Linked DNA regions of Homo sapiens: all the other regions are linked to region 1. Evidence: promoter capture Hi-C in 16 types of primary human blood cells and fetal thymus (Javierre and others, 2016). All regions are on one chromosome and are shown on one strand. The core of a region is centred on a gene start or on the middle of the fragment in contact, and the rest is flanking DNA. Distances in the headings are between cores, read along the strand shown. Region 1 holds the start of GTF2A2 (general transcription factor IIA subunit 2). Region 2 overlaps RORA-AS1 (RORA antisense RNA 1). Region 3 overlaps ICE2 (interactor of little elongation complex ELL subunit 2). Region 4 overlaps SLTM (SAFB like transcription modulator). Region 5 holds the start of ANXA2 (annexin A2). Region 6 overlaps SLTM (SAFB like transcription modulator). Region 7 overlaps ANXA2 (annexin A2).

The links. Contacts are between HindIII fragments. The CHiCAGO score rates a contact against its expected background, and 5 or more counts as called.
Region 2: a contact is called between a fragment that was not itself captured here and the fragment with the promoter of GTF2A2 in region 1, in 5 of 17 cell types (non-activated CD4 T cells, naive B cells, megakaryocytes and 2 more). The highest score is 6.9, in non-activated CD4 T cells.
Region 3: a contact is called between a fragment that was not itself captured here and the fragment with the promoter of GTF2A2 in region 1, in 1 of 17 cell types (M2 macrophages). The highest score is 6.3, in M2 macrophages.
Region 4: a fragment that was not itself captured here is called in contact with the fragment with the promoter of GTF2A2 in region 1 in 5 of 17 cell types (monocytes, total B cells, M0 macrophages and 2 more); the score reaches 8.9 in monocytes.
Region 5: the fragment with the promoter of ANXA2 here is called in contact with the fragment with the promoter of GTF2A2 in region 1 in 1 of 17 cell types (monocytes); the score reaches 9.1 in monocytes.
Region 6: a fragment that was not itself captured here is called in contact with the fragment with the promoter of GTF2A2 in region 1 in 8 of 17 cell types (erythroblasts, neutrophils, total B cells and 5 more); the score reaches 9.4 in erythroblasts.
Region 7: a contact is called between a fragment that was not itself captured here and the fragment with the promoter of GTF2A2 in region 1, in 1 of 17 cell types (M2 macrophages). The highest score is 5.8, in M2 macrophages.

What each region holds. Positions count from the first base shown.
Region 1 is chr15:59,655,563-59,659,540 of GRCh38, forward strand. GTF2A2 (general transcription factor IIA subunit 2) reads right to left here and starts at 1,953. Exons shown (of 5, transcript NM_004492.3): 1 at 1,844-1,953. BNIP2 (BCL2 interacting protein 2) reads right to left here. Exons shown (of 10, transcript NM_004330.4): 10 at 3,584-3,978. RefSeq lists an enhancer at 1,760-1,989. The HindIII fragment of the contact is 4,994 bases long and covers 958-3,978 here.
Region 2 is chr15:60,479,654-60,483,631 of GRCh38, forward strand. All of the region lies in intron 1 of RORA-AS1 (RORA antisense RNA 1), which reads left to right. Among named protein-coding and RNA genes, the nearest start is that of RORA-AS1, 2.5 kb to the left of the region's middle. The HindIII fragment of the contact is 1,439 bases long and covers 1,381-2,819 here.
Region 3 is chr15:60,437,600-60,441,577 of GRCh38, forward strand. The region is part of intron 12 of ICE2 (interactor of little elongation complex ELL subunit 2); the gene reads right to left. Among named protein-coding and RNA genes, the nearest start is that of ICE2, 40 kb to the right of the region's middle. The HindIII fragment of the contact is 568 bases long and covers 2,061-2,628 here.
Region 4 is chr15:58,891,997-58,895,974 of GRCh38, forward strand. SLTM (SAFB like transcription modulator) reads right to left here. Exons shown (of 21, transcript NM_024755.4): 10 at 2,437-2,586; 11 at 2,094-2,197; 12 at 1,825-1,991; 13 at 1,283-1,368; 14 at 901-1,064. Among named protein-coding and RNA genes, the nearest start is that of SLTM, 40 kb to the right of the region's middle. The HindIII fragment of the contact is 702 bases long and covers 1,728-2,429 here.
Region 5 is chr15:60,396,320-60,400,297 of GRCh38, forward strand. ANXA2 (annexin A2) reads right to left here and starts at 1,667. Exons shown (of 13, transcript NM_004039.3): 1 at 1,624-1,667. RefSeq lists enhancers at 13-604, 605-1,196, 690-739, 800-849, 870-1,059 and silencers at 1,220-1,359, 1,430-1,969, 2,090-2,399. The HindIII fragment of the contact is 5,260 bases long and covers 1-3,345 here.
Region 6 is chr15:58,929,071-58,933,048 of GRCh38, forward strand. SLTM (SAFB like transcription modulator) reads right to left here. Exons shown (of 21, transcript NM_024755.4): 2 at 3,286-3,373. Among named protein-coding and RNA genes, the nearest start is that of SLTM, 2.6 kb to the right of the region's middle. RefSeq lists a silencer at 3,966-3,978. The HindIII fragment of the contact is 498 bases long and covers 2,076-2,573 here.
Region 7 is chr15:60,374,721-60,378,698 of GRCh38, forward strand. The region is part of intron 3 of ANXA2 (annexin A2); the gene reads right to left. Among named protein-coding and RNA genes, the nearest start is that of ANXA2, 21 kb to the right of the region's middle. The HindIII fragment of the contact is 1,268 bases long and covers 1,166-2,433 here.

The DNA of each region.
Region 1 (3,978 bases), core at 703-3,202:
TGATCCCGTTTTCGCTAAACTCTTAATATCACAGGACACAGTCCTTAGGCCTCTGCTGCTTTCCGTCTACACCCATTCCTTACGGATAACATTTATTCTCATGGTTTAAGTACCACTGCTGATGATCCCCAAATTCATATAGCATAGAACTTCTCACTCCTGAATCTAGCTGCCTACTCAACATCTCTATTTGTTATCTTTTGCATCGTGGCTTAAAGAACTCCATACTTCTACGAGCTTGGGCAAAACCTTTGATTTCATCCTCCACTCCCTCTATCTCACTCTCCATATCCAATTCCTAGCAAATACTGTAAGGCCTACCTTCAAAATGCATTCAGAATCCAACCACTTCTCACCATCCCTACGGTTATCACCCTGACCTGGGCCACTCTCGTCATCTGGATTACTGCAAAAATCTCCTAAATGATTTCCCTGCTTCTACACTCACCCCTACACTCTAATCACAACTCACAGCCAGGGTGATCTTCTAAAACTTCAGTTACAACATACCTCTCCTCTATTCAAAATCTCCCATGGCTTCTATCAGCCTTTACAATGATCCGGCTACCATGATCTCTTTGACTTTATCTTCTTGTCCCTCCACCCCCAAAACTCTTGCTCATCCCTCTCCAGATACACTGGCTTCCTTGCTATTCCTCAAACATGACAGGCCTAAAAGCATTTGTATTGGCTTTCCTATCTGCCTGAATGCTCTTCCTGATATTTACTTAGCAAATTTTCTTAATTCCTTCAAGTCTTTGCTCAAATAACACCTACTAAATGAGGCTCAAACTGACCACCGTCATCTTTAAAATACCAGTTCCCACCTCCACTCTGGAACTTTCCCGTACTCCTTTATATTTCTCTTTTTTTTTTTGATGGCACCATCACTTTCTAACACCATTATATATTTTATTTTCTGCATCCTCTAATAGAATGTAAGCTCCATGAGGGCAAAGCTTTTTATTTTGTTCACTTAAGTAAAATAGGCGTCTAGAACAGTACCTGGCACACAATAGGAGCCAAAAAAAAATCTGTTCAGTAAACGAAGGCAAATATCAGTAAGTATAATATGCGTGTGGGAGGGGAGAGGGGGTTAAAAAGGGCAAGAAGTCCCAATAGGTAGATAAAAACTCCACAGAGTAGGAATACAGAATCGTGCATCGTGTCCCATTTGACAAATTTTTGAGTTTATCTAGAAAATAGCCCTGCGTTAAACGTTTGTTAAAAGTGCTGATTTCAATGTTCTTACATTCTTTAAAAATTCCTTGTTAAGTGTTCTAATCTTTTAGATGTGGTATCAGCCACAGAAATTTATTGTTCCCTTCTTGTTTTGCAGTTCAGAAAATTAGAAGTCAAATTCGGAAGTAACTCGTCCTAGCATTTTTTGATTAAACCACCAAGTTTAAAATTCGTTCCTTTTGTCGGAGTTCGCACGAAGAAAGTTGGAAGGCAGACTTCAAACAACAAGCTACAAAGCACAGGAATGAGACATTTAAAAAATGCTCTCCGAAATTCGGCAAAACTCACAGGGCGCTAGTGGATGCTTTAAGACATTCACCTGGCTGAAAATACGGTGGTGGGCTGAAGACCTCCCCTAGGTGGGTTCTGTGGGCGCCCCGTGAACGACGAGCCTCCCGCCACGGGACGCGACCATCACCGCCGCCTCGCCGCCCTTCTCCGGTGCCGGCCGCGGGGCCTTGCCGGCAACGGTCGGTAACGGGCAGATCCCAGGAGCGAAGGGCCCTCAGAGACTACCCCACCAACGCACTCCGACTCCGGGGGGGCGGCAGGGAGCGCGGCCCTGCTTCCCTCCCTAACCCTGCCCTCCCTAACCCACTACCTGTGGGGAAGGCGCTTCCCTCCGCGGAGCGGACAGAAGCCGCCACGAGCCCGGCAGGAGGTTCCTACTTCTCCGACCACCTCTCCAGCCGCCGCAGAAACCGCAGAACTGAGCTGACGACCCGGAAGTGCTCGCGGAACCTGGAAGTGACACCCCGCCCGAGGGACGGGAGGCCCCGCCCAGCCCTGCTCTCGCCCGCCACTCAAGCCTTGTCAGGGAAGGGCGTGGAGAGGGAAGGAGGGGCGTCGGGCTGGAGCTTGAAGCCTTAAAGTGGTGGACAGGCGCTCTGCTCGAGTAATTCACCAGGTTTACTAAATCGTTCCTAAGGGAATTATAATTTTTAGAGACTAATCTTCTCCATTGTTAGATGCACAATTTAAGAAATGTAGGGCATTCATATTTCATGCCGGAAGTGTGTTCAGGGTAACAGTGTTGAAGACCTTGCAGACGAATTCTGAAAAGATTATAGCAGGGGCCGGGCGCGGTGGCGCACGCCTTAATCCCAGCACTTTGGGAGGCTGAGGCGGGTCGATCACCGGAGGTCAGGAGTTCGCGACCAGCATAATATGGTGAAATCCTGTCTCTACTAAATACAAAAAATTAGGCAGGCGTGGTGGCGCATGCCTGTAATTCGAGCTACTTGGGAGGCTGAGACAGGAGAATGGCTTGTACCTGGGAGGCGGAGGTTGCAGTCAGCTGAGATCGCGCCATTGCACTCCAGCCTGGGAAACAAGAGCGAAACTCCGTCTCAAAAAAAAAAAAAAAAAAAAAAATTATAGCAGGGTAAGCAGGGTATCTTCTTTACCCCTCGAAACAGGGCTGCAGGCAAAGTTTTTAGTTTGTGACCAGTTCATGAAGAACTTTAATTTGGGAGAAGTTATATTTAAAATTTGCATCTAATATGCAAGATAAATACTTCACTATAAATTTCAAGTTTGCAAAATCACAAATTGTTTTAGGTGTCAGGGTGCATGGTACACTAACTGGCTTAAACCCAGCAGTCATGTGTAGAGCAGTTTATCCTACAAAATAGCTGAATAGTGATTAAAGAGTATGTGCAAAACAACAACAACAAAACCACAAAAAACACCAAGTGGTATCAGCTGGAACCTCTGAGCAGGTCTATGAACTAAACAAGTTCTTCTTATTTAAGCCATGTTTTCGGCCAGGGGCGGTGGCTCATGCCTGTAATCCCAGCACTTTGGGAGGCCGAGGTGAGCGAATCACCTGAGGTCAGGAATTCGAGACCAGCCTCAACGTGGAGAAACCCCGTCTCTACTAAAATACAAAAAAAATTTCGCTGGGCGTGTTGGTGCATGCCTGTAATCCCAGCTACTCGGGAGGCGGAGGCAGGAGAATTGCTTGAACCTGGGAGGCGGAGGTTGCGGTGAGCCAAGATGGCGCCATTGCACTCCAGCCTGGGCAACAAGAGCGAAACTGTCTCAAAAAAAAAAAAAAAAAAAAAAAGCCATGTTTTCATTTTAAGCCACTCATGGTTTCATCCTTGGATTCCCCATTAATTAAAAAAAAATCTCAACTATGAAACACAAAGTTTCATTATTGTTTTGATGTTAAAATAAAGCAGGCTGAACTCTCTAATCCCCAAAGAATAGAAGCACTTAGACTATAGAAAGGGAAACAAGTGTAAAGGTCTGAAATTATTTAAGAGGTTTATAGGATAATTCAAAGCAAAAATTTAGTAGCATAATGAAAGAAAAATGTGATAAAAAGACAAAGACGAACGTTCCAATTAATTTATTTAAATTCATTAATGTTGCAAAAAATATGATGTGCAACAAATCAAGACACAAGTTATATTCCTAACAGGTCAAAGAAAATATTACATCTCCTTAGTAAATCATGACCAACTCTGGTATTTCTTACAGGGACCACATTAATATCTTGCACACACAGACATCAGAACTGAATTTCTGACAGTACTCGGCTGGGCAACATCATCTTAAGAGTAGGAAAATATCACAGTACATTAATTTTGTCTAAATGACAGCAATGAACCTGTGGTAACAAAAGTATTTTTGGAATAGATATCAAAGTGTGTTAATGTCTTAACAAACTCTGAATTGTGTTCTGTGTGAATAGTGCTCCAAGGGCTGTGCAAGTCAGTGGCCCTGAAC
Region 2 (3,978 bases), core at 850-3,349, 820 kb after region 1:
ACAGAGTACTTTGTGCTTGGTGCTGGGTACACATGGACTAAGACTGAATACTGATTTTTCCAGTGCTTTGGATCTCTGGCAATCTAAGACATTTACATTAAATACAATAGAAAGTAATAAACTACATAAGAAAGGTGTATAGATTGAGGTTAGAGGGAGAGGAATAGCTAGTGTGAGGGACAAAACGCAGTTTTGAATAGTATTGAGTACTTACATGTCAGTTGCTGCACTGAGCACCTGCCGTGTGAGCTCATTTGAAGAATGTGGGTATGTGGAATGAAGAGAAAGGGCGTTCTAGACAGACCAGCACAAGTGTCAAAAGACAAAAATTTGACACATCTAAAGATCTCAGTTGGCCTTATTGCGATTCTGGAATCAGGCAACACTTCATTCCATAAAATGGAATGAGTGTCCCAATGAGTGGAACAGAGGAGGTTGGCATTACGGACAGAAAAAAGGTCTGTAGAAAGTAGAAACAAAGAACAAAAAGCAGATTGATCATTTCAAAGTTACTTTCCTGGTAAGGTGGAGACAGACAGTACAATAGAAAGATAACTGATTGGTTAACATCAGGTTACTTCAAGTTACTCTTTGCTGTAGGGACTAAAACAGAGGAAATTCATTATCTTGCTGATTGAAAATTGAAACTGGCCTGTTACCTCTGTCTCCTGATTTCTTGGAGGGCCACATAACTCAGTTTCGGTGTGGTGAGCCTGAGTGATACCATTTTTATTTTAGTCTGGTCTCTTGGGGTCTAGTGCAGAAGTTCTAAACAATGGCCTCCTATAATTTTTTTTAATACAAGGAACTGCATAAACTTATTGCATAAACAGAATCTAGTGTGTGCTATTAGGGAAGCATGTTCTACATTTTATTTTAAGACAGAGTCTCCCAGACTGGAGTGCAGTGGTGTGATCTCAGCTCACTGCAACTTCTGCCACCTGGGTTCAAGCGATTCTCCTGCGTCAGTCTCCCTAGTAGCTGGGACTACAAGTGCATGCCACCACACTTGGCTAATTTTTGTATTTTTTTTTTAGTAGAGATGGGGTTTGCCAGGGTGATCTTTAACTCTTGACCTCAAGTGATCTGCCCACCTTGGCCTCCCTAAGTGCTGGGATTACAGGTGTGAGCCACTACCCCTGGCTGACATTTTAGACTGATTTAGAATATTGTTAGAAATTATGTTAATGTAAAAAATATGCTACAGGAAACCATAGGTAGTTTATTTTGCCTGGAATGCAAGGTCTCTGAAGAGTAGTAGAGGAAAAGGGGTTGGAAAAACTGGTTGAAGCTAGAACACGTAAGATTTTATAAGCCAGACTAAGGAAGTTTGACTTTATTGCATAAGAAATAAAATGCTAGGAAACAAACAAACAAAAAAGCTTACATAATGACACAATCAGAACTGGCTGGCTGTGCTTCAGGAAAGTTCACCTGGCAACCTACGGAATTCATTGAAGGGAGGAGGCCAGTTAGGAGACAGTGTTTGTGAATGCTTAAAAAAATCAACCACTACAATGCCTGGCACTGTGCAGATAGCATTTCTTTTTTTCTTTTTCTTTTTTCTTTTCTTTTCTTTTTTTTTTTTTTTTTGAGATGGAGTCTCCCTCTGTCGCCCAGGCTGGAGTATAGTGGGGCGATCTTGGCTCACTGCAACCTCTGCCTCTCGGGTTCAAGCGATTCTCCTGCCTCAGCCTCCTGAGTAGCTGGGATAACAGGTGCATACCACCACGCCCGGCTAATTTTTGTATTTTTAGTAGAGACAGGGTTTCACCATGTTGGTTAGGCTGGTCTTGAACTCCTGATCTCGTGATCCGCCCACCTCGGCCTCCCAAAATGCTGGGATTACAGGCGTGAGCCACCATGCCTGGCTGCAGATAGTATTTCTTATTAGGTAAGTGATGTGGATGGCTTGTGTAGGACAAAGGCAGCGTAAAAGTTCATGTGTTGGGTACTGTCTCACAAAGCATGCAGTCAGGAAGAGTTGGGGACACCTGACCTGGCCTGAAGGAACTGCTCTAATTGTTTAAGAGCTCATGCTGCTGGGAGGTACCTGCCCATGGTAGTGTGATATGGTAGCATTACCATACAGCTCTGTGTTGAGATTTCAGATCATCACCAAACAGTATGCTCTGAACTGGTATATCTGAGTTTCAATGGTTGCAAGATAGCACACAGAATCAGAATTTTTAGAATCAGAACACGATTTGGAGATTATCTAGTCCAACCCTCTTGTTTTCCTTACAAGGAAATGGGCTCGTTTCAAGATTGTCAAGTGACTTTTCCAACATCACATGATCAATGATAAAACTGATACTAAAACTCAGGTCTCATAATTCTTGCCAACGTGTGCATTGTGCATCTTCCCAAAATTCATATCTTATATGAATATGTAATTCATATGTCATATTATAGGAGCCTAATGGCCTCCTATAATTTTTGTTTACTACAAGGAATCCTAATGGTATTTGGAGGTGGTATCTTTAGGAGGTAAGTAGGTTTAGATTAAGACACAAGGGTGCAGCCCCAATGATGGAGTTCATGCCCTTGTCAGAAGAAGAGAAACCACAGCTCATTCTCTCCCCCAAGTGAAGACACAGCAAAAAGGTAGCCATCTGCAAGCTAGAAACAGAGTTCTCACCAGGAACCAAATTGGCTGGCAGCTGGATCTGGACTTCCAAGCCTCCAGAACTGTAAGAAAATAAATGTCTCTTGTTTAAGCCTCCCAGGCTATGGAATTGTCATAGCAGCCCCAGCGGAGTAACATAAAATACAATAAATATATGCATCCTTTCTTTTCTGTTTTGTGAACCACAAGAAGCTTAGTGGCAAGAACATGGACTTCTGGATTCCAGTAGTTATCTGTCTCAGGTTGGCATCTCAGTTTTTCTGTCTACTGGCACTGTGATCCTAGGCATGTCGTGTGTCCTCTTGAGTCTCAGTTTCTTCATCTGGATAATGGAGGCAGTGATACCTCACCTACAGAATTGTTGTGAGGACTAGAAGTAATATATATATAAAGTGCATTGCAAAGAGTAAATGTTCAACAAATACTAGCTATTAGTATATAATTTTTCTGAAAGAAAAATCAAAGATGAACAAAACACAGTGGAGATGGCACTGTACAAAGACCTATAATGCAAAGAAGAAATGGTGGGCCGGCCGCGGTGCCTCACGCCTGTAATCCCAGCACTTTGGGAGGCTGAGGTGGGTGGATCACCTGAGGTTGGGAGTTCGAGACCAGCCTGACCAACATGGAGAAACCCCGTGTCTACTAAAAATACAAAATTAGTCTGACGTGGTGGTGCATGCCTGTAATCCCAGCTACTTGGGAGGCTGAGGCAGGAGAATCGCTTGAACCCGGGAGGCATTGGTTGCACTGAGCCGAGATTGCGCCATTGCACTCCAGCCTGGGCAACAAGAGTGAAATCAGTCTCAAAAAAAAAAAAAAAAGGAAATGGTATACATATATATATAGAAGATTCCATGGGACCACAAATGAGTAAGAAATTCATTCTGATGGAGATAATTTAGAGATTACTTCAGAGGAGTTTAATTTATTTTGGGTCTTGAAGGATGTGTAGGAGTTCACTGGGTAGAAAAGGGGTTGTGGGTTTTAACTGTGGGAAAAAAAATCACAGAAGTGTGAACAGCTCCACATATTCTGGGGAAGAGGAAAAGCTGTTGCATCGCTGTGTTGGGGAAATGAAGGTTGTTGGACTGGAAATGGTGAAGCGGACTAGAGATGGTCTTCATTGCCATGCTAGAGATTTTGGACTTTATTCTCTGCATTATGGGGAATCTGTGTGTGTATATGTTTGTGTATCTGTGTTTTAAATAGCTTGAGTTATAAGCTACATACCATAAAATTCATTCATTCTAATTGTACCATTAGGTGACTTTTAGTAAATGTGTGAAGTTTCACAACCCTCAACATGATAAAGTTTTGGAACATTTCCATTAACCCCCAAATCCTGT
Region 3 (3,978 bases), core at 1,095-3,594, 780 kb after region 1:
TGAGATTACAGGTGTGAGCCACTGAGCCCGGCTGAAGTCTTATTTTTATTTATTTATTTATTTATTTTTTAAGACAGAGTCTTGCTCTGTCTCCTGGGCTGGAGTGCAGCAGCGAGATCCTGGCTCACTGTAACCTCCACCTCCGGGGTTCAAGCTATTCTTGTGCCTTAGCCTCCTGAGTAGCTAAGACTATAGTTGTGTGCCACCACTCCCAGCTATCTTTTTTTTTTTTTGGTATTTTTGGTACAGATGGAGTTTCATCATGTTGGCCAGGCTGGTCTCGAACTACTGGCCTCAAGCAATCCACCTGCCTTGGACTCCCAAAGTGCTAAGATTACAGGTGTGAGTAACGGCACCCGGCTCCGATTCTTACTTTTTTCACAAACACAATATGAATCTAGAATTCCAAAAAACAAAACAGCAAATTCTCAATATGATGCTTTTGTTATAACAAGTAATGCGTATGTTCTAAAACAAAACAGGTTGAGAGCTAACACCAAGGTCCTGAAATATACCAAGGAAGAGTGACATAAAAGAGTCCTGGGTTAAATGTTATATAAGTCAACACAAAAATCGTATGTATTGTACCATAGTTAAAAACATCAACTAGCATGATGAGAATATAAGACGTATCAATGTTGAAGACAAATTGTTTTTATTTTTTTAACTCCTAATATTTAGGTATCAAAACAAATTACCTGGAAAGCTGATGTCAATCACTGGGACAATTAAAAATGCACATAATTTAATGTTTCATTTTCTTACCAAGCCCCCTTTCATTTGCTTTATGCTCATACAAATAATTAGAAACATTTTTACCAGATGGCTTCCTTCTAAGACACCAAATTCATTTGTACCCATACCTACTTATTATATGTAACACTCATTACACAGTGGCATTTCTAATAACAAAGACATATCGTAATGATTTAAAAACCATAGAAAGGAAATACTAAGCATAATAACTTTTAGATGTTTACTAATTATGTCTTTGAGAAGACTAATAGTTCTTACCTTTTGAAAGAAATTCATTTAAAAAAGTTTTATAGTATATGTCAAATATGGTCTGTCAAAAATAACTATACAGAGAATACCATACTAAGTGCTCTGAGGATCTACCTACTCAAGGAGTTCACAACTCTCTCAACATTGGAGCTTTCTAACCTGTGGGCCTCAAATAAGATATATATGTGCTTAAGATACTCATCACCTCAGCCCTTCAGGCAGCTCAGCAATGCTTGGGATGGCAAAAGCTTCCTGGCTATTGCCCTTCAGCCACAAGCAATCTCTCTTATATATCACAGTGTGCTGTACAAATATTTATGTGCATCAAGGTTGGAAAGCACTGATTTATAGAGGACAAATAAAATCTATACATAATAAAAATAAAGCTTTTATATACAAGCGTTCATTCATATATATATGCACATAAACATATACATGCATACATGCATTCATATGTGTATAGGTAGGTACTCCTTGCTTTGCATGCAGTGTGAGGACCATAAAAATGCCTATACAGGCTGAAACCCTACAATTGTAACAATCAATAGGGAAAATTACAACTGTTTGGTTACCTTTAAAATTTTTATCAAAACACTATAAATTCTCTATCAATCATAAATGTATAGGAAAACGAAAAGAACAGTAAAATATTTTAGTACACTGTAATCCAAAAAATTAAAGTGTTTTCTTCATGAAACGTTAATGAAGAGCAGTTTGAACAGTGCTTGTTACCTTCTTGCACAATTTGTCATAGGAAGGATGCATCTTTTCTTTTTCTTTTTTTTCTTTTTTTTGAGACAGGGTCTCACTCTGTCGGCCAGGTTGGAGTGCAGTGCTGCGATCTTGGCTCACTGCAACCTCCGCCTCCCAGGCTCTTGCGATTCTCCTGCCTCAGTCTCCTGAGTAGCTGGGACTACAGGCGCATGCGACTACTGCCCAGCTAATTTTTTACATTTTAAGTAGAGACAGGGTTTCACCATGTTGGCCAGGCTGGTCTTGAACTCCTGACCTCAAATGATCCACCCACCTCGGCCTCCCAAAGTGCTGGGATTAGAAGCTTGAGGCACCGTACCTGGCCGGATACATCTTTTCTATGCCATGGTGAACCGTTATATTCCTAAGGATCAGCTTCTGACACTGTATCCTTGGTGCCTTCAATGTCATGAAATTATCTTCAGGATTTGTTTACTGTAAAATCTTATGCCAGTGTCACTTGTTCATCCTTTATGTCACAATGCTTTCACTAAGTTTGTCTGGCAGCAAATCTAGAGTCACTGGAACAACAGCAGTGCCAACATTCCCACTCTTTGCTATTTCCTCTGTAATTCCATTTATGTTCCATTCAAATTTCACTTCTGGCAGTATCACCTTTTGTTTCTTTGCTTTGCTTTAATATTTTTTGGTCAATTCTTTTGATTATCTACTTTGGTAAAATATCACATGGGTTTATCACCGGGAGACAAAGAGTCAACACAACTGCACACTCTGCTTTCTGTGCATGAACTCAATGGGTACACAATAAACAATTATAAACAGACTTTGAAAGAAGTGACATGACTGGTCACTGATCATGATTTGCCTGTTACTTATGTAGTGATCTGTGGACTGAAGAGCCAGCAGTGAAGCTTATACTTTATACAATTACTCACTGTTAATACACGGTCATAACTAAAACTTGTGCTTATTGAAACTGTGTGCTAAGTGAGGACTGCCTATATATCAACTATATAGAATTGATAAATATTATAGGGTTGGAGGGTGAATACGGAAGTTGCAATGAGACTATGTGGGAAACTGTCTTAAAGGAGTAAATCTTCAAGTTTTTATGGGGAAAAGATAAAAAGAGTACTGCAACTAGGGAAAGTGGGGAACATGTTTATAGCAAAGCAGAGCAAACAAACAAATCACAAGTGTGTTGATTCTACTGAAAAAAGAGACTATAAGCTATAGAATTGATTCTCAAAGTGTGGTCCCTAAACTAGCAGCATCAGTACGACCTGAGAAAGTCTTAGGTCCCAATACAGACCTAGTGAATCAGACACTCCAGGGTGGGGCCAGCAATCTCCACTTTTAAAAGCACTTCAAGTGATTTTCTTGAACATCTTCCTTAAATTAAAAGAGTATTATAACATTTTTAAAAACTCAAAAACTCAGATGTTATCCCCCCATACCTACACCCCACCAAAAAACCCCGAACAAACCAAAATCCCACAACCATACAATATATGCTTTTCACCAAACACTTGTCACAGAAGCCAAAAATACTATCCCAGTACAATGAAATGAAAGGCTCACAAGAGGATAGGATTCACAGAGAATAATCAGCAGTTAGGATTACTTAGGATTTTACAAAATAATTAAAATGAAGTAATCCATACAGTTGATGTTGAACTGTACATTTAAAAACTGAAACCTTAATTTTTTTTTTTGTCATGAATCTCCATTCTCTGTCAGTACTTTAAACAAAATTTCACTCGTAAGTTTTTAACTGGGCCTTTTCTAAAATGGATGTGGCTGGCAAATTGCATTCAAGTAGCTAATGTTGAGATTGTTGGTGTGAGGTCTTTGGAGGAACATTGAAATTTTGGTTACAGAATGAAAATTACTACAAAAACTTCGAGTATGTGTATGAAGGAGGAGGAGGCAGGCAGTACATCACCAATTAGTGCATTTAGCTACTTCCTTTTTTGAGTTAAGCAGAAAGAATCAATTATCTACTTAATACTCTCATAAAACATGAAAACAAAATACTGATTAACCAAAACAGGAAAAAACATTTTAAGTGAATAACCTTTCTTTGATTAAGAAACACACCCTCATAGGATTTATTACATACAAGCAATCAAGCTATGCAGTATAACACAAAATTTTATTAGACTCAACACAGAATTTTATCAGACTCTGACCTTAAGCTGTTTATTGTCTAACAGGAAGAAGGGATAGGTGTTAAGAGAGAATAAAGTACAAAGTAAC
Region 4 (3,978 bases), core at 829-3,328, 760 kb before region 1:
AAAAGAGAAAATGGGTTCTATGTGCTACAAGGATTACTTCCTTTTAGTAAAGTTGTGTGTCAATTATTGTACAGAATAATCTAAGTTGCTAAAAGTATCTCTGGTAGTTCCTAACGCTGTCGTCAATGAATGGATGAAATCCCATGATAAGTAACCCCTGGACAAGACAGCTTAACATTTGAAATAATATACTATAAAACACACCCACAAGACTATTTTAAGTGGCATCCAAAAATTGATATACAAAAGTAAACTGACACTCGTGAACTGTTGAGATATGGCCACTAAAAATGGAAACATCTTGCTTTGTTTATATTTTCCGTTTGTTTTAAAGAGAATGCTTGCTTTGGGATATAATCCGAATACCATTAGGCTCACAGGGCAAATCTTCCTTCTCTTAGGCACTAATGCAAACAATAAATTTTTGCTAAATTTGTTAAAATTTCAGATTACAGTATTTGAACACTGTAGCTACTTTGAAACTATCTTATCTCAAATTTTTCCTTTGAAGTCATGTTTTTTATGGCAGCAGCTTTGGTGTTGAGGAAAGAGCATTGGACTTGGAGTCAGAAGACTTGGGTCTGAGTCCCGACTCTGCCACTTGTTAGCCATGTGGCCATTGGAAGAGTCATTTAGCCTCTCTGGGCCTCCATTTTTTTCAATTGTATAATGGGCATAACTAGCCTTACAGAACTGTTGAGTTGGAGACAACAGATGGAAAAGCACTTTGTAAATTGTAAAGTGCTATGCAAACTTAAGAAATCATTAGATGCTACCGTAACTTCTTTAAGGTGGCAAACAGTTTTCTGTGGGAATACAATTTCCAGAAATATGGCTTACAACTAGTGTTAAATATTTACCTATATTTAAAGACAGGTATAAAACAGACTCTCTTCCTACCTTCGAAGTTCCATTGCTCGTCGCAGCCTTTCAAAACGAACTAAATGTTCTCTCAACCTTTGTTCCTTCATCTTTTCAAAAGGCAAGATCTCTTTCCTTCTGTAGTCTTTATCTCTTTTTTTATCTAGACTAGCTCTCTCCTTTTCCTTACTTCTTCCATGAATCTGTAGAAAAAAATTAGAAGAACACTAGAAATTAAAATATTTTGGGGCTTTATTTTTCAAGTTTAGTAGGTCATTTAAAAAGTTCAAATGACTAGTAACATTTCCTTTTTCTTGGGTTTGCTAGCATGCAAGTACGCAAAGATGGTTATGGAAAAACAGAATTATCTTCTTTTGTAAACAGCTGAAGTAGTATACAACCATCCTGATCAGAGACTTACTTTCTCATATCTTCCTCTTCTTGATGGTCTACAATGATCTCCTTTAGTTTGGTCTAGTATTACCATATGTCCTGGACTCTTGGAACCTAAGGGAAAAAAATTATATAAAACAATGTCTAAAATTTTTCATTGAGAAAGAAAATATGTATGTAAAAATGCTAAATTCTGATAGTCACACACCAATACATGAAATAAAAAAACTACTTATTCTACAAGAACTTCAATGCAAAGAGTTTTTTAAACAGTTCAGTCTGCTAACATAAATACTTTCAGTGATACCAAAAGATCCTAATTCAATAGTACTAATCAATGACCATTTTAAGTCAGCCCAGAATAGCAAAGGAGCTTAGCTGGAAGAATACATTTGTTTGTTTCCCCAGAGTAGAAAAGAAGACAATTACTCCTACTAGACCTCCTTTCCTACCACAATGACACCTAACAACAAAGCTTATATCTGGATTAGAATTTCAGGTTTTCCCTTCCACTGTAAAAATTAAGTAGTAGAATGCATTAGAAAGGGATTGAAAAGATGTATAGCATACTTATTCGCTTCTTTTCTTCACTTTTTTTAATCGATTCTGATGTTTGGCCACTTGCTCCATTATCATTCTTCTCATCTTTACCTTCTATTTTCTTAGTATCCTTGCTTTCTTTTTTTTCAGATTTCTCAGACGATCTTTTCTCTTCTTTTTTGACAGAGGCTTGTGTCCTGACCATACCGCCCCAGACAAAAAAACAGAATGAGTACTTCATAATGTACCAAAAAAGTCTATCTGCTTATCAAAATAAATAAATAAAAATAAATCCTTACTTGCTACTTCTATCACTCGTATTTTTTTTATCTCCAGAACTTCTTGAACTACTCTTTTCATCATTTTCTTTCTTCATTTCTTTCTTAGAGGGATCACCTTTTACCTGAAAGGTTCGAACCAGAAAAACAATTTGTACATATGGTTACATTTTTGTGATTATAAGAAGTGTGCTAATGGCAGAAAATTTGGAAACGATAGGAAAAATATAAGGAGAGTAAAAACTACAAATACATAAAAATTAAAAATCACTGCAAATTCTACTCCCTGCTACTGTTAACAGCTATGAGTTGAGAACTAGCCATCAAATTAGACTTGCTTTGATAAACAGTTAGGGAAGCTTACTTTTTCAACAGAAATCAGCTGTCCATGCAGCTCAGTGCGATGAAGATGTGCAATACACCTGGACACCTCTGTGCTTGAAGACATAGTTACAATGCCATAGCATTTTGCCCCAGGACTTCGAGCATTTGTAACTACTTTTGCACTCAGAACCTATAAAATCAGACTGTACTTTAGAGAGTTTTACAACGTTCCAAGTACACAGACTTCTAAATACATGAAACTTCACAACTGAAACTATATATTAATTCAGGGTGTATCTTATTCTGTCTCATGTTTTTTTTTTTTTTTTTGAGATGGAGTCACACTCTGTCACGCAGGCTGGAGTGCAGTGGTGTGATCTCAGCTCACTGCAACCTCTGCCTTCTGGGTTCAAGCAATTCCCCTCCTTCAGCCTCTCAAGTAGCTGGGATTACAGGCATGCACCACCATGCCCTGCTAAGTTTTGTATTTTTAGTACAGATAGGGTTTTGCCATGTTGGCCAGGCTGGTCTCAAAGGCCTGACCTCAGGTGATCGGCCTACCTCGGCCTCCCACAGTGCTGGGATTACAAGCATGAGCCACTGCAGCCAGCCTATTTCATATTCTTGTGATCACCATCTACGTTACCCATCTTAGTAAATATTCAGGGGAACAATTTAAAGTGCCAAAAAGCAATTTAACCTTTTTATATTTATTTCCTCCCCTCAAATATGTAGCCAAAACACAATCTCATCAATGAAGTAATGGCACAATTAATAAAAGCAAATAAATTGGATTTGAACCAAAATATCCCTATCATAGGCCCACCCTGAATGTCTTTAGAGAAAGTTTCTAGTATTTTATTGATGAGTGTTAACACTTTTCTATAATGAGTAAAGAACCAATCACATATAAAAAAGCGGACTTAAAAATGCATCCCCCGAAAAACACCCTAAAGCTTGAAAGACAACACTTTCAATCTATGTGCTTTTAAAACGTATATGAACATGACAAATAATTGCAATTGTGTAAGATGGTTAGTTAAGAGAGACAAAGCAGGGATGGATGAGTGAGAAGAAAAGAGAGAGAACGATTCGGTGCTGAACAAAGAAGAGTAAAGACATAAAGCTGGGAAGAAGTAAACAGGAAAATCAGGAGTTTTATGGTATGGGTGGCTGGAACAAATCAACTTTTACCTCAACCCTAGGAAAGGCTGATTTGCTCCATAGCCATTTATTTTTTAACTCCACGGGTCTTCTTACCAAATAAATGGTATCCTCATATAGTTTTACTACTAATAAATACCAACATTAAAATATTGTTTTCACATCTCTAACAATACATTATTGAAAACAGAAGAAAAAATATAACACAGCCTATCATGGGACTACAATTCTCAGTGTTCTATTTCTGACACCTACAAGAACCTCCTTTACACTCAGGCAACTCACTAATTGAAGCAGGAAAAAAACCCTCCAAAAATCAAGAGGACAGGTTTTGGTAATATTAATGGCTATTTACCAATAATGGTCACTAATTCAGTAATTTCAATATCTGAAAGCCTATCATGTGCACATGAAGTAC
Region 5 (3,978 bases), core at 417-2,916, 740 kb after region 1:
CTAGCTGGATGCAGGTCCGCCGAAATGGGAAGGAGGAAGGAATGCAGCGTAACTGGACCGGCCTGGATGGCTGTTGTAATGCGTCACGGAAGAGCCAGAAGAGCGTCTCTAAGGAGGTGGAAGGTGGAAAAAAGAAAGTGGAACAGGGGCAAAGACATAATTTTCCAATTAAAATAATTTACTCAGTGTCAACCTTAAAGCTAAAAAAAGTTCCAGAAAAATATTTCAGTGATTTAGTCTTCCTACACACACATTGCCCCTCACTACCCTCCACCTCCCCACCACCAATCCCATAATCAGGCAGTGCATGTTAAAAAGGTCTTTCAGGGCTAGCCTGGGAACGTCAGCACCTTCTGCAACACTGTTTCAGTGGGAAAGTGCATTCTGCATTCCAAGTCACCAAGTTCCAGACAGGCACAGTAGCACACACGTGTGAACAGAATCCATCAGTACAGTCTGGGGCCCAGGCCTTTGCACACCAACAACTTAAGGTTCTTGGTAATGGCCCAGCGTGCACCCATGAGGCCACTGCTCTTTTACACACGCACTCAGAACACCCACAGCTTTAAAACGGCAATCTTACTACAAAAATGACACTTTGCATTTGCACAGCACTTTGTTTTTTGTGTACTTTACACATTTATTACCTAATGACTGTGTTTTTTGAAATCTCCAATAACTCTGGGTGGTGGTAAGAATAGGCATCCTTAAGCCACCTTCCCAGATGAGGAAACTTATCTGTGTTCCCCTCCTTCTTCTCAACAGCCGGCTGATGGAACCCAAGCCCTCCACACCAGCAGTGGGGCCAGCTGCACAGAGCGGCCAGAAGGGAGAGGCCCCGGGGCCACGCCCTTCTCTCTACTCTCAGTTCCTGACTCATTGTCACATCATGGCGAGTAACAGGACAACCCTCCCCACAGAATCATGGGGGACACTACCTTCCTGAGGCCAATGTGTTCAACCAAGCGGGAAACTCTCCGGGTAGAGTGAAATCCGAAGTTGCTATGCTACAAGATAACCTAGAGCAAGGGGAATAACTGACGTTTTAATGTCTTCTTTTATGGGGGGCTGAGGGGTGCCTACTCACACTCCCCCCTCTCGTCTTCCCCCGCTACTTCCCTCCTGCTGGTCGGTTCAACTCCACAAGCGCGCGTTTGTTTCGAGTACAGTAACTTAGAGCAGATGGGGGGCACTTTCTAGAGGGCAGTGGAAAGCCCACTTGCTACTGCTGCGCCGGGGACCTGCGGCTCCCTGGGCGGCCACGCCCTGCCTCGGCGGCGCCTGGCGCGTCTGGAATGCGGGGCCTCCCTCCGCCCCTCTCCCCACGCCGCCTCGCCCCGCTCCCGCTAGGGCTTCTTAGAGAAGCCCGACCCCCCACCACCTCTGCCCTGCACCCTCCCGGCCCGAGGGCCGGTGGCCCCTCACCCCTGCCCCAAACACCTTGTCCCTGAGCCCCCTCCCCAAAGACTCTCCAGTGCCGGCCGTCCCTTCAGCCCCCTGCCCCCGACGGCCTCCGGGGCCAGTTGCCGGGGCCTCCCTGCCAGGCCGTACCCTTCTTCCCAGCGTCTCCACACCCCGCTAGCTGGCGGCCCATCGCGGGCGGGCAGGGCGCGCCCCGCTTACCTGGGCCGTGCGCCGAGAGCTGAGAGCGTCCCCAAATGCTGAGCAGAGCCGGCTGGCCTGGGTGGGGCTTTTATACCCGCCACATCCTCCCTAGGCGAGGCGAGGCCCGCCCCGCCCCGCCCCGCCTCCCCCTTACACGGCCCGCTCCCACCCCAAGTCAGGGGTGACTCACCCCGGCCCGCCGGCCCGCAGGGACCGCGCCCTGGAACGCTCCCGAGCCGCGCCACGCGGGAGCGGCCCCAGCGCCCCTGGCCCTGCCCTCCGAGAAAGCCCGGCCGAGGCTGCCCCGAGGCCCACAGGGACCCCGTTTCTTCCTCCTTTCCTCATTTTACTTCTTAAGTGCCACGTCGAGCTCTCAGCCTCGGCTTGGGTTAATAAATTAACAAGACTTTAGTAGTAGACTCTGGGCTTGATTAAGTGTTTTTTTTTTTTTTTTTTTTTTTTTGGCGTTAATGCAATGGAGGAAAGAATTGTTCCAAGAAACATAAATCTGGACTCCCCTGAGCTGGGGCTGTTGGCATCCAGCGCCCCATTACCGTCTGCAAACATGTCAGCTTAACCTCTGGCCGCCAGTTCCCGGGGGGCGCCCGGGGAGGGAGGGAGATTCGCCCTGTGCTGCAAAGCCTGGCCCGCCCCGGCCTCCGAGGGCCAGGAAGCCCCGAGCCTGGGCTGGGAGGCCAAAGCCGGGAGCCAGGATCCCACCTCAGTCCCGCCCAGGGTGGCGCCCCTGTCCCTAGCACGGCTGTGCTCCGCTTCTCTCCGCGCCTGGGGCATCTCTGCGCGGCCTCGTAGCAGGCAGTCCTGAGCGGGGTGGGGCCCATAGCTTTGAACCCGGAGTTTCGTGTGTGTGTGTGTGTGTGTGTGTGTGTGTGTGTGTGTGTGTGTGTGTGTGTTTCGAACCCGGAGTTTCAACAAAGAACTTTCCTCTCCTTCTTTCATGACTGCTGGGGTGTGTGTGTGCGTGTGTGGTGTGTGTGTGTGTGTGTGTGTGTTTCTTGCAGCCGTTTAGCCAACTCCCTTGCTCGGTGTTGCTGTTACTCGCTTTTCTTCCGAGAGAGAGAGAGAGAGAGAGAGAGAGAGAGTTTCTTGCAGCACAGAGAGAGAGAGAGAGAGTGAGATAGAGAGTTTCTTGCAGCCAGTTAGCCAACTCCCTTGCTCGGTTTTGCTGTTTCTCACTTTTCTTCCGTGTGTGTGTGTGTGTGTGTGTGTTTCTTGCAGCCGTTTAGCCAACTCTCTTGCTCGGTTTTGCTGTTTCTCGCTTTTCTTCCGTGTGTGTGTGTGTGTGTGTGTGTGTGTGTGTGTTTCTTGCAGCCGTTTAGCCAACTCCCTTGCTCGGTTTTGCTGCTTCTCGCTTTTCTTCCAAGAGTCACGTTGGCAACGTGCAGGCAGACACCTATTTGTTGTATGTGAGACGACGCAAATACTGTATTCGAACCTCAAACTAACAGGAAAGCGACGCTGAGAATCCCGAGGATCTCTGGCTGCGTTTTTTAAACCCCTCCTTGCACACTACTTCCTGCAGCTCTTTTTCCTGGTTTTGATGATTCTGTGTTTCAATCTCCCATTTATCTTAACATCCATTTTTACTTTCCATTTGAGCGTCAATTCACTCCTGGGAATCAGAGAATGATAGCAAGGCCAACAGACATTCAGTGCTCTGCCCACTCGCATAGAGTGACACAGGCAAAGTCGGCCACAGCTGAGGTCTTTTAACCCGCCCAAAGCTTTCTGTTACCCAGCGCTTTCACGAGGAATTATACGCGATGGGCCCTACCACAGAGCCAAATAGAAAATCAAGCAACACTTTGGGTACAATTGCTGATTTACATTTATAGCTCTTCAATTTAGCCTGAAAGCTTCAAAGTCAGAAACAATGTTTATCTGCTTACTTTGTGTGAACATTTTGGAAGGTTAGGGGAACACAGGCAGACAGTAATATTGGGCACGATTCAGCCTCCCTTCTGTGTATCTCAAGATAGGTTCCACAGTCTCTTACTCCTAATCGTGCTGTGATAGGCCCTTTACAGAAGATAAAATTTAATTCAAATCATGTGGAATATATAAAAGCCATCAAATGTCCAAAAGAGTTTTGTGCTCATCTTGGGCATGCCACAAATTCTAACTTCTATAGATTTGTACAATCACCAGTCTTTGCATCATGCTAAAGAAATGTGCACTGATGTTATCATAAAAATGAAGCTATTAGAAGTCATAGTTTGCTATTTCTGAGGAATGTGAGGCCAGTTCTTCCAGTATAAAAGATCTTTTATTAGTCAGAAGACTCTATTTTCCCCCCTGGTTGAGGAGAATGTTTACATCAGCCCTCAGATTGTCTGCTGTTGTCCATATTGCTCT
Region 6 (3,978 bases), core at 1,075-3,574, 730 kb before region 1:
AAGTGGCATAACCAAGATGAAATTATTTTCAATGTAGATACCAGTAAGTAAAACAAGATCTGGCAAAAAGAATTGAATGTAGTAATTCAGCAACTTGATTGAAAAACTGATTATCAGCCAGGTGCGGTGGCTCACTTTGGGAGGCCGAGGCGGGAGGATTACCTGAGGTTGGGAGTTCAAGACAAGCCTGACCAACTGGAGAAACCCGTCTCTACTAAAAATACAAAATTAGTTTGGAGTGGTGGCGCATGCCTGTAATCTCAGCTACTCGGGAGGCTGAGGCAGGAGAATCGCTTGAAACCGGGAGGCGGAGGTTGCAGTGAGCCGAGATCACACCATTGCACTCTAGCCTGGGTGACAAGAGCGAAACTCCATCTCAAAAAAAAGAAAAGAAAAGAAAAACGGACATCACATTAAAACAATATTTAATATATCCTTGGTTTTCAAATCTGTTCATTATTGATATTTTAATAAGTTTCCCTATACAAATTTGGTTTCTAAAAGTTATTATTTAAACATCTTAATTCTTTTTTAAAATAGAGATAGGGTCTCACTATGTTGCTCAGGCTGGTCTTGAACTACTGGACTCAAGCGATCCTCCCACCTTGGCCTTTTGGGATTATAGGCATGAGCCACTGCACCCGGCCTAAAATAATCTTATCACTTTGTAAAATGGCAGAGAAAACATCTCTGCCATTTTAGAACTCTGCCATTTTAGAAGGCTAGAACTGAGTTGGTATGACGCATTTAAGCAAAACTGGCTCTAAAGATGATCAGTAGCGCTTGGAATTTGAGACAAGAGCATTCTTTAATAAGTAAACTGGGTTCAAAATCTCTCATATTAAAAATAATAAAAATAAAATAATTGAATCAATAAGCATCTTTATTGTAAATTAATTCAAACTGTTTGGAGTTGGAGATTTACATTATATTCTTTGTAATTCACAAGATTTTCATAACAATGATAGCCGGATTTCAAGAAGACTAGAGCTTTTTGTCATGCATCTCTTAGAATGAGGCCTGCTACAAACAAATGATTGAATGTTACAACTTCTTTTTTTTTTGAGATGGGGTCTCATGCTGGACTGCAGTGGAGTGACCTTAGCTCACTGCAACCTCCACCTCCTGGGTTCAAGCGATTCTCCTGTCTCAGCCTCCCCAGCCTCCCGAGTAGCTGGGACTACAGGCACGCGCGCCACCATGCCCAGCTATTTTTTTTTTTTTTTTTTTTGTATTTTTAGTAGAGATGGGGTTTGGCCATGTTGGCCAGGCTGCTCTCGAATTCCCGACCGCAGGTGATCCACCCGCCTCAGCCTCTCAAACTGCTGGGATTACAGGCGTGAGCCACTGCACCCGGCCCCCAAATGTTACAACTTCTAACTGAATACCTTAAGACCTCTTAACATCAGAGTTATGGAATAAAGTTCAAGTATAACCCATACAAAGAAAAAAATTAGCAAACATACTGATAAAAATAAATAATGTTTACTTATTTAAAATGTTGTGGTGGCACATGCCTGTAGTCCCAGCTACCAGGGAGGCTAAGGTGGGAGGGATCACTTAAGCCCAGGAGTTTGAGGCTGCAAAGAGCTAGGCACCACTGCACTCTAGCCTGGGCAACAGAGCAATACCCTATTAAAAAATATATATATATATCATATATGATATATATACACCTATATATAATCTATATATCATATATATAGATATATATACCTGTCATAAAATGTATTGAAAAAACCCTTAAAATTTTATATTGCTGAAATTATTTCTAATAATAAGAGATAAATGATGTTCCTAGTCAAAACTGAAAAAGGGATATACAGAGAAATTAAAAGTAGGTGAGAAAGGAATAAATCATGTTTATTTTCAATGCTAAAATAATAGTCAACTCAAACAACCTGGGACTATGATTAATACACAGTACCTGTCAAACTAGCACAGCATGCTAGGTAAAAGATATGAATCAAAACTACTGCAAGACACATGGTTAATTCCTGATATACTTATTTCTGAATTTCTATCGTTTTCCATTTTGAAATAGCCTCTGGTTTGTTGGCAGTCTTCTCATGACAAGCTTCTTTAAATACAGAAAATGTATCTCTCAAAGTGATACACTGAGTCAGAGTTATCTTAAAAGCTACCTTTAAGATAACTTTTTTACTTCTCTAAACTACATCCCCACCTCTCCCAGGGAATGCTTATTAGCCCTTTTCAATTTCCTTTGGCACAAACAGGGGACTCTCCTAACCTAGGAAGACTTAAAATAGTGAGTTGTCCTCATCTCTGATACCCAGGTGTGCTTAAGATCAAAATTTAATATTCCCTTTTCAATATTAATCCATTCATTTTATTTTAGTTGCAATCATTCAGTGGTTGGGAGTAACACTTGGATCACTTAAAGCAGTAAAGAAAATTAGATTACAAAAAATGCAGCAGCTGTTCATGACAAACTCTGCATGAAAATTGTAGGTAAAGACCAGAATCCAGATATATCATGTCCACCCTCTGCCACTGTCCTTATAGGAGGGAGAAATTTGCAGTTATTCAAATAAAGGTTTCATTTACCAAGAAGCTTTAAAAAATACCTAAGTTCCATTCATACTGCAAAACGTTCATTTAAAACCACTTTTAGCTAGTCACTAAATCATTATATCCTAGAAATAAATATATTTTGCTCTAGCTTAAAAGTTAAAAATAAGAATCTTTAACATCCCTATAATTTAAAACTTTTTTAAGCTAATTAATCATGGATTTTTCCCTCTACCTTGTTAGTATGATTGGTGAGGTCTTTTTGAATTTCACTAAAAATTAGGAGGTATAATGGCATAAATGCAAATTAAGTTCACCAAGTCAAACAAAGTACTAAACATAAAGGTTATAGAATTTTAATATACTAAAGAAAACAGCAAGGAGGCAAGGTAAAAGATTTGGTAGGAATTCCATCAAAACTCTGCCAATTGTGGGGCAAGGTAGACATGTGTTAAACTGTATTTTATTCAGGTCTTCACACTATGAAGCATCATTACACAACTTGACTTTGTAATTTTTTCCGGAAGCAATAAAGAACTGTTCTCACTTTCTAATCAGCTTCAGCCGAATCTTAAGGGCTACAAGTCACCCAAAGCCTGGCAACAGTAACTTTTCTTCCTTGACCCAAGAAGGCAGACTGCCAGAGGGAAATAGCAAAGAGTAGCACTATATAAACAGGGCAAGAGGCACAAGAGCAGAGGCAAGTTATATAACCAAAATATATTTTAAAACATGTTCATAACTCGTAACAACCTTTGCCTTTAGTTGGTTTCTTGTTTGGAGTATCAGTTGAAACAGTTAATTCAATATTATCTGGATCGCCTCCTTCCTCTTCAATAGCCTACATTAGAAAGAGAAGTTAATATGCTACACAATCTATCTAAACTTATTTTATAAAAACGAAATGAAAAAAAATTTAGCAAACCTCAAGCCTCAAGACATTAGAATTGCCAGTCATTTCATCAACCGACTTCAAAAATGAGCAATTAAACTACACGAAAGAGTGAGAGAAACTTTCAGGGGAAAAAAATCATTAGGTATCAAAATCGCAAGGAGTTTTAAATTCTACCGTGTCAAGATAATTAAATATCACATCATACTGGCCAAAAATCCAAATATGTTCTATTGCAGAAAAGTTGCTAGCTACTAAAGTAAATAACTAAAAAGAGTTTTCCTAGTTTCTGTAATGCAAACTTACTGCTCCTCTGCTACAATTCCAACGCTCACTCAAACCAGAAAGCTAATCAGGAAAGAAAAAGTAATTATTGCGCTGATGCAAAAACTAAAAGCCTAGTGGAAAACAAAAACTCTGTCACCCACCCATCAACTCCCACTACCAATTCCCCCTCAAGATGGGGAAGAAACGGTTGGGCACAATTAAACGGTAACTTCGCAGAAGTCACCAAAGTAACCATTCCCTCTGAGGCCAAGAAATGCACACGCTCA
Region 7 (3,978 bases), core at 550-3,049, 720 kb after region 1:
TCTGTGCTGGCAGAGTCACAGGGTGGCTGTGACTCAGCACTGGCCTCTTTGTTCCCAGCACTGCTGTAAGATGAGAAGTCAGTCTAAAGTAAACTTGAACACAGAGAGAAAGGCCTCAGCAACTGGGAAGGGTCCGTTCCCTCCCGTTCCCTTCCAGGAGGGTGAGAAGGCCCTGGGCTACGTGAGTCACAGAAGAGCTCACACTCAGACCTGCTCTTGTTGGTTTAGCTCCTCACTTGCAGCCCTCCGTTAGAGGAGAGAGGCTACTTTTCCCAGCCAGTCTGCCTCTTGGCGCCCTCAAGAGAATATATTTCTAATTGTTCTGCTCAGCCAAATGAATATACCTGGCGTGCAGGTGAAACCAAAAATATCCATCCTGGCTTGTTCTGCAGTGGCATGGGATGTTAGTCTTTTGGCCACAGAAATCTTAAGCAGTTCTATTTTAAAAGTATAAGAAAAAAATAAGTGCAAAACTTCGTGCAGTTATGCTTCTATACTTGCGCTTCTGAGAAAGGGGGGAGAAAAATCACCCACTTTTGCATCCCTTCCGGAGAACACAAATACTGCTAAAATCAAAACTGGCAATAATAATAGGGTAATTCATTACCCTCCCCTTCCAGAGAGAGACCAAAGCTGTACCAGTTTATTGGCACTTACACTAACTCTGGGGTTGTGCTGCTGCTAATTACAGTCTATTTTCTGGAGTCTCGATTCATCCTTTTCTAATTTAGCTGACTCTCCTTTCTAGTTATTTGGACCCATATGGTAAACCATTCACAGCTGTGTTGTACACGCCATCGTATATATTTAACCCAAGGCCAATCTAAACCAAGAGACTCCTACAGATTAAGTCTCAGCAACCTCTTGTTAATTAAGCAGTATTACTACTTTTGCATGACTGTACTCAGTTTCTAACCAGACATAAATTAAGGTAAGTCGTTGCATAGTCTACCTCAGGACGGAGCATACATAAAACAATCCTGCATTTGGTTTAGGCAGCACAGGCAAAAAATACTGAGATCCCTTCAAACTAGAAACAAAGCAGACTTATTTTGATTTTAGCAGTATTGTGCTTCTCCCCCCTTCTCATAAGCACAATAAACGAGTATGTAGAGTATGATGAGAACACAGACCAAGAAATAGCTGGTTCTGCCTTCTCAGAGAAAGCTTGTTGATGCTGTGCACTGGCCCAGGCTGAGAGGTAAATGGGAACTGCGCAGATGTTTGAGGTGGGGAGGAAGGAGGCTACACGCTCCTCAAAGAACAAAGGCAGAGGCATGCTCTGTAGAGGGCCGTGAACAGAGCCAGAGACGAGGCTAGAAAGATACTCTGTAAAGGCTGAAGCAGGGAGGTCCCTTAGAAGACAGATGCCATAGGCCAGGCGCAGTGGCTCACACCCGTAATCCCAGCACTTTGGGAGGCTGAGGCAGGCGGATCACCTGAGGTCAGGAGCTCAAGACCAGCCTGACCAACATGGAGAAACACCATCTCTACTAAAAATGCAAAAAAAAATTAGCCGGGCATGGTGGCACATGCCTGTAATCCCAGCTACTCGGGAGGCTGAGGTAGGAGAATCGCTTGAACCCGGGAGGCGAGGTTGCAGTGAGCCGACATTGTGCATTGCACTCCAGCCTGGGCAACAAGAGCAAAACTCTGTCTCAAAAAAAAAAAAAGAAGACGACGACGACAGATGCCATAACAGCTCACAGGAGAGGGGTGACAAGAGTTAGGGGAAGGGGTGAATAAGAGCTGCCTCCCAAGCACTGGAAAGTGAGCCAGGACAGGTATTTTTGGTTTTGTCTGCACACCTGGAGGTATATTCATTCAGTTGAGCACAGCAATTAGGAATATATTCTCTCGAGGGTGCCAGGAGGCAGACTGGCTGGGAAAAGTAGCCTCTCTCCTCTAACAGAGGGCTGCAAGTGAGGAGCTTTAGCTCACACCAAGAAGAGCAGGTGTGACTGACAGTTCGTCTGTGAGAACAGCCTTCGTGACTCCTGCAGCCATGCCCTGGCCATGGCAAGCAGTGCCCCCAAACAGGTCTCTGACCAGCTCTACCCTCCTCGCCATCATCCCACTCCAGGCCTGCTCCTGTGCACCATCCGTGTACTCGACAGCAGCTGATTAAGCCTCCTCCAAGGTGGCCTGCTCCCAGCTCTTCTTCCTGAGAGCACACAGACCACAGGGAAATCAATGGAACATTACATGGAGTGGGTAGCGTCCCGGCACACTCACACACACGTGTGTACACACGGCTACCCCCGTCTAGGAGAGAAAGAGGGCCAGTCATCGTCACATGGTCCTCTGGCTTTTGTTTCTATCAATACTTGAGGTTTATACCGTGTCCTTTGATGTCAAGGAAACACCAACTACTTAGTATTGTCTCTTCCCGATGAAGGGTTAGAGGTGGGAGTGGGGCCAAGGTGTGGTGTAAGCTTCTTAATTACACTTAAGGCAAAAGGCATTCTAAAAAAAGAAGGTAAGATCTTAATTAGCTCATTTTTAAGTGGTTTTAGTTATCCAGTATCTAATAATATCAAGGAGAAGGAGGAAGGAACAAAAGGGTTGTTATCCTTTCCAACTAATGACTTCATTTTTGTTTTTAATTAAGTTTACTGCCTTCCACTATGAAAGTAATACAAGTCATCATAGAAAATTTGCAAAATACAGAAATACAGAATATACTGAAAGCCCAAGAAAGGAAAAGGAGCAATTGCCCACAATTCCATATACAGGCATACCTCGGAGATACTACTGGTTCGGTTCCAGACCATCACAATAAAGCAAATATAGCAATAATGCAAGTCACACAATTTGGTTTCCCAATGCATATAAAAGTGTGATTATATTATATTAAGTGTGTAATAGCATTATGTCTAAAAAACACATAACTAAATTTAAAAAATACTTTTATTTCTAAAAAATGCTGGCACAGAGACAAAGTGAATAGCATTGCCACAAATCTTCAATTTGTAAAAACCATAATATCTACACAGTGCAGTAAAGGAAGGACCATGAAGTGACGTACGTCTGTTTCCATTGCTAATGCCTTTTATTTTTTCTTTTTTGATTAAAAGAAATCATAGGCCAGGCCTATGATTTCACACCTGTAATCCCAGCACTTTCGGAGGCCAAGACAGGTGGATCACATGAGGTCAGGAGTGCGAGACGAGCCTGGCCAACATGGTTAAACCCTGTCTCTACTAAAAATACAAAAATTAGCCAGGTGTGGTGGTGCATGCCTGTGGTCCCAGCTACTCAAGAGGCTGAAACAGGAGAATTGCTTGAACCCAGGAGGGTTCTGCCAGGAGGCAGAGGTTGCAGTGAGTCAAGATCATGCCACTGCACCCCAGCCTGGGCAACAGAGTGAGACTCCGCCTCAAAAAGAAAAAAAAAATGGTTGTGGTTGTGATCACATAGCATATACCATCCCATTTCTATTTCTTGATGCAACTGACACATTTAAGGTGAATGGATGTTAAAATGAGTGTTAGGGAAGTTACTGTGGTGATGACTGCACAACTCTGCAAATACACTACTAAACACACTGAAATGTACACTTTATATAGGCAAATCGTATGGCAGATTAACTGTATCTCAATAAAGATGTTGAAAATTATTGACAAACTTTATTTTTCCTATCTACATTCTGCAGACATTCTATGTAATACAGAGAGTTACACATTATCTATGTAATATAGTTTTACTTATTTACTTAATGATTATAAGGAAGTATACCTCAAGACATACTTCCCAACTAAAAGATTTATCTGGTCTTTCACTACCATAACCAATGCTAATATTAGCACTGAGCTCTTACGAATATCATATTCTTTCTTCGCAATAGTTCCTAAAAGGATTTAGGGTTTTAATAATGCCAACAATCTAGAAATTATTTTAAAGGACCAATGGACTTGCAAAACCTACTTACTCTCTAAAATCACTAAGCATCAAAAATAAGTAGGCTGGGTGCGGTGT